Regions from separate parts of the Homo sapiens genome. Here region 2 is linked to region 1. The links are contacts of gene promoters, found by promoter capture Hi-C in blood cells and fetal thymus (Javierre and others, 2016). All regions are on one chromosome and are shown on one strand. Each heading gives the region's core, a stretch centred on a gene start or on the middle of the fragment in contact. The rest is flanking DNA. Distances are from core to core; before and after follow the strand shown.

What was found. The method cuts DNA at HindIII sites, captures the fragments that hold promoters and counts their contacts. A CHiCAGO score of 5 or more calls a contact.
Region 2: a fragment that was not itself captured here is called in contact with the fragment with the promoter of RAP1GAP2 in region 1 in 1 of 17 cell types (megakaryocytes); the score reaches 5.3 in megakaryocytes.

Annotation. Positions count from the first base shown.
Region 1 is chr17:2,793,614-2,798,665 of GRCh38, reverse strand. RAP1GAP2 (RAP1 GTPase activating protein 2) reads right to left here and starts at 2,228. Exons shown (of 25, transcript NM_015085.5): 1 at 2,095-2,228. The coding sequence starts at 2,138. The HindIII fragment of the contact is 10,845 bases long and covers 1,379-5,052 here.
Region 2 is chr17:2,931,927-2,936,684 of GRCh38, reverse strand. The region is part of intron 3 of RAP1GAP2 (RAP1 GTPase activating protein 2); the gene reads right to left. Among named protein-coding and RNA genes, the nearest start is that of RAP1GAP2-AS1, 32 kb to the left of the region's middle. RefSeq lists enhancers at 3,682-4,427, 4,428-4,758. The HindIII fragment of the contact is 547 bases long and covers 3,220-3,766 here.

The sequences.
Region 1 (5,052 bases), core at 979-3,478:
CCATCCCATCCCACCCACCCTCATCACCTTGTCTGCCCCTGGTGCCAGAGGTTATCCACCCTGCATCCAATGGAGCTTGGAAAACACCAGCCCCAGAGATTCTGTTCACTGTCTGGAGGGACCAGGGCTCCAGGAATCCGTGACACCCCCTCCCAGCTGACAGCCATCCCAGATGAGGAGGCCCAAACCCCAGTCTCGCCCCCTTTCTTGCTGCCTTAACCTTCCAAGCCCAGAAGGCCCCGCCATCCCGTCAACCTCAAGGGGCCCCAAGCAGACACCTGCTGTGTGCAAAAGACCTCGATGAGTCCACAAGCATCGACTGAGCCTGTGTGACATGCCAGGCTTCCAGGTGAACGCGACGGGGCAGGGCCTGCCCTCCTGGAACCCACAGCCTAGTGGACACTGAGCCAGCACACAAGGGCGTCTGGGACATCCTAGGGCTCTTCCTCCACCTTCGGCTCACCCTAGACCTCCTGAATCTGAATGTGCATTTCATTAAGGAAGCCCCAGTGAGAAGGGCTGCTAGAGAAGAACTTGGAATTCTGCTTTCTATCTTGGCAGCCCTGGGCAGCCACACTCCTGTCTTCCCCCTCACCTGCCCAGATTCAAATCTCAGGCCTGGCTTTGCCTTGTGCTCTGGAGCTGTGGGTCTCAACACAGAGGGCTTCATATGGAATGAAGCTAGGCTGAGACCGGGACCTGTGCACCCGGAGCTTTCTGGCGACCAGCCTTCCATCTGCTCCACACCTCCCAGAGAAAGGCGGGCCTTGGAGGGCACAATCTAATTGCTGGGCCCTGCCCTGCAAGGCCCACAGCCAAGACACACACACCCCTCCCAACCAGAAGCCAAGTCCTCTGCTGCCTCCCGGACACTGGCACCTACCCTCGGGGTGGCAGCTCCCAGATCCAGGCGTCAGGGAGGGCCCGAGAGCAGACACAGGCGACGCTGTGCCATCTTCTCATCCGCACCATCCCATCTGCCAAACATGGAGTGCCCACAGTCCCCCCCTGCCAGAGGATGGATGGCAAAGTGCTTTTGAAGAGGAGGAAGAGGGAAATAAGCCACACACACGGAAGCGAAAAATTACCGAGGAACACAGCCCCTCTCCCCCTCGCCCTTCGTGCCACCCCCATTAGTCCACCATTTTCCACACCGGGACACCCCCCGGCCACCTCCCGCGGGGCCCTCTCCCAGTCTGACAACGCCCCCAGCCCAGGCACTGAAAGGAAACCGATCATGAAAACCACCAGACTCTGTTCCCCAGCTGCGAAGAAGCTGCCAGCACTGGGAACCAGAGACAAGCCTTTGGCCTTCGTGTGCCTACCTTCTGCCCCCCGCCGGGAAGAAAAAGCACATCCCTCATCCCAGACAGAAGCTTAGAGGCAAGAGTGTCCAGAGGGCCAGGCAGGAGGCTGGGGACAGATGCAGCTGCTCAGGCTAGGACAGAGCTAGGGTGGGCTGCCTGGGGTGCAGGTGGGAGACCTTCTCTCACAACCCACCCCCAAGACAGCAGGCAGCCCAGAGGTCCAGCAGGTACAGACTCCCCTGCCACAAGGCCACAACAACAGCACAGACAGGAGCATCACACACACAAACACGCAGACACAAGCACACACAGACACAGAAGGCCAGAAGTGCAGACAGGCAGCTGCCCACATGCACAGGCACACACCTCACACACGGTCACACGGACTGGCAGTCACAGCCACACACACACGCCTGCACACACAGGCTCAAACGCGCACACACACACTTACACATAATCCCAGACACGCACACACATACATGGGAACCTGCGGACACAGAGACACACACATTCAACTGCAGTCACACTCATGCTATCCACCTCCCCACGGGCAGCCGGCGCAGACCTCCAGGATTCGCCAGCAGATTGTGCCCAGGGACAGTGGGGAAGGCTTACGGTCTCTGATGTCCCCACCAGGATCCTGCATCTCGACCTGCCAGGGCGTCAGCAGACCCAGCTCTCAGGCACAGCCCGAGCCCCTCTGTTCCCACGGCCGCCAATGCACTTAACAAGACTTCACTTCTAAGTTCTCTCCCATCATTCCCCCACCCTCCCACCTGTCACCCACCATCCGAAGCCCCCAAAGGAGACACTGCGCTTCCGGCCAAACATGGTTGTGGCTGCAGAGCCCGGGGTCCCAGCGATGTCCCAACGACGTCCCCGGGGCTGTCCGCAAGAGGGCCGTGGTACAGCGGGGTCAGTGCCGGTGCAGGGCGGGGAGCCCAGCGTGGCACCTCCCTCTTCGCCTGCCCCCAACCCGAGCTTCCTGTGGGTGAGGCTGCAGAGCTGGGAGGTGTGTCCTGCACTCCAGGAGGCACCAAGATAGGCCGAGGAGGTTGTGGAGGGCAGCTTCCCCACACCCAGAGGAACCCACAGCTCCGGAAGGGGCTCGGCTGGCAGATTGCTCCACAGCCCCAGTTAGCAGCCCGGCCCACACAGCCCCAGCTTCCTGGAACCCAAAGGCGCCCCAAGGATTCCCACAGCCACGCCTAGGAGGGACAGAAAGATTCAGCTGGAAGCCTCAGGGACGCCTGAGCACTGGGGACCTTCACACCCACTCCCGAGGGCTGCCTGAGACAGGGACCTTTGCCTGCCTGCCCCACCATGGCTCGGCACACGCCAGAGGAACCAGCCACACACATGTCATTCCACTAGCACACGTGGATGTAAGTATACATGCACACGCATGGGCACAGGGGCACGTGGGATGCACACATGGACACACACACGCCCAGGATACCCAGGTACACACAGATACATGCACGCAGACATACGTATCATTAGACACCTGTACACACCTGAGCACAGCGCGGCACACACGCTCCCGTGCACATCCACACACCACTTCACACAGGCATCAGTAGACACACCTGCACACGCTTCTCACATACTGACAAAGCCCCATTGGACACGTGCACAGACATGAACGCATACACATGTGCCCGCAGGCACTCATCCACATACTCAGACCACATCACACTGCAAGGGGCATTCGCATGTACACACACATGGGCACAGAGCTGTACCTGTCAGCCGCCCCCCACCCCCGCCGCCAAGTGTCTAGACAGAGGTCAGAGCAGTGGCATGCTTCACGCTGGCTGTGTGGGGTGGGGGGGCGGTACCCATGTGCGGGTGGATTTGTCTTCCCAGCTGAACCGCAGGGTTCGTCCTCATCTCTGCATGCTCAGGTGCTGGTCCTCATGCCACAGGGCTAGCGTGTCCTGCACGCATCCCAGTCTGCACACCACAGGGCCAGTGCTCATCTCTGCACGCACTGGTGCTGACCACACCTGGTACACAGCAGGCACTTACTAATGGCAGCCCCTCAAAGGGATGTGGCACGTACACTACAACAGACACTGGGGGGAGTGGGCACAGATAGGGCCCCAGGCCCCACCCTACCCCCAAGCAGTGGAGAAAGGGAAGAAAACGTCTCAAAAAAAAAAAAAGAAGAAGAAGAAAGGCCGGGTGTGGCGGCTCACACCTGTAATCCCAGCACTTTGGGAGGCCAACGCGGGTGGATCACCTGAGGTCAGGAGTTCGAGACCAGCCTGGCCAACATGGTGAAACCCCATCTCTACTAAAAATACAAAAATGAGCCAGGCATGATGGCAGGTACCTATAATCCCAGCTACTCTGGAGGCTGAGGCAGGAGAATCGTTTGAACCTGGGAGGCAGAGGTTGCAGTGAGCCAAGATCATGCTGTTGTACTCCAGCCTGTGCAACAAAGAGCAAAACTCCATCTCAAAAAAAAAAAAAAAAAAAAAAAGGAAAAAAACGGCCCTAGCTGGTGCCATTGGCCTCTCTCTCTGGCCAACCCTCCCTGAAATTTCCTCTCTGGCACCTGCTGCCACTGTGAAGGTCCTAGACTCCGTGCTGAGGTGCCAGGGGCCAACCCCAGCTTGTGGACGAAGGGTACAAGGATTTCTATTTTCTTGACTCCTTCACAGCAGGGGACAGCACAGGGGCCTCAAGCCCTGAGTGGGCTGGGGGAGCAGCTTCAGGGTCCTGGGCCAGAGCAGGGCTGGGGGCTGACTCTCTACCTCCAAGGCAGCTAGTCCCCAGCAGGAGCCCGGAGGCTTCCCCCAACCCTCACCTCTGCCCCAGGAAAGTTAGGATTGTGTGGTTCATGCTCTGGGGTGGCTTCAGGCTGCTGGCTTCCCACAGGATGGCCACTGCAGAGTGCCACAAGCGCCTCTCTCCCCAGAGGCACCCACCCACACCCAGGAAGTGCTCAACAGGTACCGTGGACAACTTGGGTCCTGCCTGCCCTGCCTCCATCTGAGAAGAACCCTCTGCACTCAATCCACCTCCAGGGTCAGGAGTGGGCACCTGACCAGGCCTGGCCAGCCAAGGGGACTGGTTCAGGAGACCTAAGTAAACCCAACAAGACACCATCCCAAGAGGCTTCCCCTGCTGAAGCATGAGATGAAAGCCTGGGGCTGTGGAGAGTGTGGGGAAAATGAAACCGACTCACAGGAAGGCAGAGAAGAGAACTGACAGAGAAAGGGAAAGAGGAGAAAGATCATGTCTTTTTTTTTTTTTTTTTTGAAGAGTCTCGCTCTGTCACCCAGGCTGGAGTGCAGTGGCACGGCTCACTGCAACCTCCACCTCCCTGGTTCAAGTGATTCCCCTGCCTCAGCCTCCCACATATCTGTTTACAGGCGCCCGCCACCACGCCCAGCTAATTTTTGTGTTTTTAGTAGAGACAGGGTTTCACCATGTTGGCCAGGCTAGTCTCGAACTCCTGACCTCCGGTGATCCACCCGTCTCAGCCTCCCAAAGTGCTGGGATTCCAGGCGGGAGCCACCACACCCGGCCAAAAGATTGAGTCTCAAGGGCATCATCTGAGCTCCAGGATCCGGCTGTGCCAGGAACCAGCTGACCCCGGGTATAGGAGAGCCAGCCGTACGAATAAAGAGTTATTCCTAAAGCCAGTATGAGTTGGATTTCTTTCATTCTCCATTAATAAAGTCCCAACTAAAGAAAAGAGCTTGACAAGTGAACAAGTGAAAGTGGGAACAGT
Region 2 (4,758 bases), core at 2,244-4,743, 140 kb before region 1:
GAGCAAGACTCAATATCAGAGCCCAGGACCCATTCCTACCACCTCCCATTTGACCCTCATGATCATCCATTTTGGGGCACCGGGGGAGGGTAACTAAAGCTCAGAGAGGTTAACTGGCCTGCTGAAGGTCACACAGCCTGTTACTAGCAAAGCCAGGTGTTCTGAGTGAAAGAGGTTCGAGGCAGGGAGGAAGGAGAGGAAGAGGGAGGAAGAAGGTGAGTGCGTTTGTCTGTGTTAACCTCAGAGGGCACAAAGGAGAATCTGGCTGGCGGAGAAGGCCCACAGCCCCTGGCAGGGTCATGAGCAGAGACCAGTGTGACCACACTCTGACATCCTCTCCATGGCCAGGGGAGGCAACCAAGCAAAGAAGGAGGCATGAAGGCCAGCGAGACAAATAGTACTTAAGAGGCAAAACTGGGTGGGGGGAGGGGGGAGGGATAGCATTAGGAGACATACCTAATGCTAAATGACGAGTTAATGGGTGCAGCACACCAACATGGCACGTGTATACATATGTAACAAACCTGCACGTTGTGCACATGTACCCTAAAACTTAAAGTATAATAATAAAAAAAAAAAAAGAGGCAAAACTGGCCACCGGCCACTGGAGGTGGAGACAGGGAGAGGAGATGGCGGTCTGCGCACATCTCCCCACCGTCAAATTAGCCTCCTGAGCCTCTAAATGAGACCTCTCTTCTCTCGAAACCAGAAACCCCACTATTAAGGATGCCCAGCAGTGATCATTCATTTATAAAATACCCCGGCTGGAGCAAACCCGCCAGATCGGCCGCGTTTCCTTCCTTGCTTGTGGTTTTTCTCCAGCAGCTGCAATCCGGTGAAGAGAGCATGGGACTGAGCGTCAGACAGACCAGCCTCCGAATCCCAGCCCGGTCACCGGCCAGCTGTGAGGCCTCGCGCCTCACTTGCCTCCTTTGTGACACTGGAGTAATGATCCCCATCCTCCGGCACTTCCGAAGATCAAATGAGGCCACAAATGTGAACGTGCTTGACATTGCAACAGTGATCGAACGACAAATGTCTGCCGGCTCTACGTGTACTGGATTTATAGAATTAATTTCAGGATGGGGGCGGGGGGGTGACATTTATTGATCTCTCACTCTATCTGTCAGACCCTTGACTAAAGATGTGGGACGTTCTCTTTTGTGTGTGTGTGTGTGTGACAGAGTTTCACTCTTATTGCCCAGGCTGGAGTGCAATGGCACAATCTCAGCTCACTGCAACCTCCGCCTACCAGGTTCAAGCAATTATCCTGCCTCAGCCTCCCAAGTAGCTGCGATTACAGGCACCCGCCACCACACCCAGCTTATTTTTTGTATTTAGTAGAGATGGGGTTTCACCATGTTGGTCAGTCTGGTCTTGAGCTCCTGATCTCAGGTGATCCACCTGCTGCGGCCTCCCAGAGTGCTGGGATTACAGGTGTGAGCCACTGCGCCTGGCCTGAATATGTTCTTTTATCTGATCCTCACGCCTACCTGTGAGGCAAGCACTATCATCACATCCACTCTGTCACTGAGAAAACTGAGGCTGAGAGTTAAACATCTAGAACGACAGGCAATGCAAACCCATAGTCAGCCTCCAGGGGCCAAGTTTTGAGCCTTCACTCTAACAGGGCTTGGGTGTATTGTCTAAATCAGCTGGTTGATGCAGATGGTACAGGATGCTGAGAGGCCAAATCCCACCCGTCTTCCCTAAAGCTTTTCTGAAGCCCCTCAGCTGGAATTCCCACGGCACTCGAGTTGGTTTTGGTAGGCGTCATATTCTGTTTCACACGAATAGCTAAGACTGATCTTTCCTCTAAACTGCACACCTTGCAGGCAGAGGCCATATTTACACACACCACAGTTGTGCACGCACCAGATTTCGTCAAACTAAAAGGACATCCACTGGAAGGTACACATTATTTTGTTCTCCGCTAAGAAAGCAAAAATGCTTCCAATTACAAATTACGGTGTGCTATTGCTCATGAGATGCACCCTGATTTCAGAGTTGTTAAATGAGAGGGAAGAAAGTGTCTTCGAAGCAATGAAATACAGTAGTAGACACTCAGTAATTATTTGTACTCAGTAATTATTTCTTGGGGTAACAGAAAGAACAGTGGATTTGAAATCTCAAGACTCAGGTTTGTGTCTTACCAGCTGGCTAAAAGGAGTATTTCATTTTCTTCTCTGCGCAATGGGGAAATCATTCTTCTTTTCTGCAAGAACCAGAAGAGTTCAAGAAAGTGCTTTGCAAGGCCGGGTGCGGTGGCTCACGCCTGTAATCCCAGCACTTTGGGAGGCCAAGGTAGGCAGATCACCTGAGGTCAGGAGTTCAAGACCAGCCTGGTCAACATGGTGAAACCCCCTCTCTACCAAAAATACAAAAATTAGCCTAGCATGGTGGCCCATGCCTATAGTCCCAGCTACTCAGGAGGCTGAGTCAGGACAATCACTTGAACCCAGGAGGCAGAGGTTGCAGTGAGCCGAGATCGTGCCATTGCACTCCAGCCTGGGCAACGGAACAAGACTCTGTCTCAAAAAAAAAAGTGCTTTGTAAACAGTCAAGTACTGAACCAACCTAAAGTACAAACAGGATAAAGATGAGGCATGGATGACGGACGCCATCCGTGGCTGTGACCAAAGACGGGTGACCCTGTGGGTATTTGCAAGAGGCTCTGTAAGGGCGTGGCTGCCTTGGGGCAATCGGCCCCATTTTTCCAAGAAACAACTGGGGCTCCTGCTTCCGAGCTGCCCACGCTGGTTAAGGCGTAAGGTTCCTACGCCACAGACTCTCCAAGGCAGGCTTTGCAGCGTCAGCTGGCCGAGCTCCTGGTCCTGATCCGGTCTTCAACCTGAAACTTCCAGTCTTCCCCCAAAGTGGGGCTCAGCTTCAGGTCTAAGCCTCTTAGTGGGGGAACTGGAAAAAAGCAGCTCTGGAAATCTCATCAGGTTATTCAAGACTAACCTTGCCAGGTCCGTAACAGGGTCAACTAGAGGGTTAGGCATTCTAGGAGAGGGAACAGCCCAGGCAAAGGCTTAGAGGCAGGAAAGTGAGCAGGGGGCTGGTTTGGCCTCGGTCTACCCAGCAGCCACAGCTGTGGTCCCATCTTCTCCACCGTGTCTCTCTCTAAAGAATGGGAATAAAGAGCCCCCCAGGCTGACAGAGTGGGAGAAAAGGGAGGTGTTGGCCTCCCGGAAAATCTCTGCTTCGCTCCAAGCTTCCTTGTCCCTGGAAAATGCAAAGCCCCATGGGCTCCGCAGCTTGTACCCTCTCCTAACTGGCCCTGGAAGGCAGGTGTCTGGCTGTGTCAGAGGCACGGCTGGCCCCCTCCCTCACTCCACGGTGGTCTCTGCCCCCCAGGCAAGGTTCTTCTCTACACCAGGCACTTTACTGGCCCTGGCGGGCAGGTGTCTGGCTGTGTCAAGAGGCACAGCTGGCCCCCTCCCTCACTCCACAGTGGTCTCTGCTCCCCAACAATGTTCCTCTCTACACCAGGCGCTTTCCAACTTGCTCACCCGCCCACACGACTCCATTTCCTTCCACTCGCCCTTCTCTCTTCCCGCCCTCTCCTGCCCACTGTCTGGCTGGCTGGCTCATGGAGGAGGGAAACCGCAGCCATGCTGCCCTGTACGCGGGGACACTGGGCCTCCTCCCCTCTGCCAAGCAAGTGTTGAGAACCAGGCACTCCAGATCCCAGTGCCATTCCCCTCCTCCCGCAATCCCAGCCTCGACCTGTGCCTGGAGGAGGAAAGGGGCTGAAGAAGCTTCTGGGTTTGCCCATCCAGAGGGAACACATCACAGACCAGACATGGAACCCATACCCTGCCCGTGGTCCCTGCTCTTTTTTTTTTTTTTTTTTTCTTTTTTTGAGATGGAGTCTTGCTCTGCTGCCAGGCTGGAGTGCAGTGGTGCAATCTTGGCTCACTGCAACCTCTGCCTCCCCCGGGTTCAAGTGATTCTCGTGCCTCAGCCTCCTGAGTAGCTGGGATTACAGGCGCCCGCCACCACTCCTGGCTAATTTTTGTATTTTTAGTAGAGACGGGGTTTCACCATGTTGGTCAGGCTGGTCTCGAGCTCCTCTTTTTTTTTTTTTTTTTTTTGAGATGGAGTCTCACTCTGTCACCCAGGCTGGAGTGCAGTGGCGCGATATAATAAATAATAAATAAAAAGGATGGAACCTCACAGAATTTCCAAAGCAAGAGGCATCATATGCCAAGACACACACCACATACCGAACACCCTTCCTCCCTCTCCTCTCCCTGAGCTCCGGGTCCCACACTTGTTATGGGATATGCAGTTGGCCAGTCTCCCTCCTCCTCCACTGGGGCTGCAGTTGTCCCCCAGAGAGACCATGAGGTGCCCCGTCACCACTAACAGCCTTAACTGCTCCAGAACTTGGCCGCTCCCACACGCTCCTGCCTAGAGACCCCCAGCCAGGCACCCTCTGCTTCAGCGCGAAGGAGGAAAACACAGCGTCCCATCCCCCATGACCACATCAGCACTGCTGGGAAGCAGCAAAAGCAGATTTACAGATGAGCTAAACCAGAATTTCAATTATCTGGGCTCTTCCTGTTAACATCCTCCTCCACCTGGGACAACGGATTACTGGGACTTTGCTGGAGCCGTCCCTGGCCTAGTGCAGAGCAGGTGTTGATCAAATGCGCCGGACTGAGAACTGAATATATCATTATATATCTTTGTGCTGCTGGGTAAAGGGCGGTGTCAGCGAAGGAGTCATGAGAAGCTGGAAATTTTGGG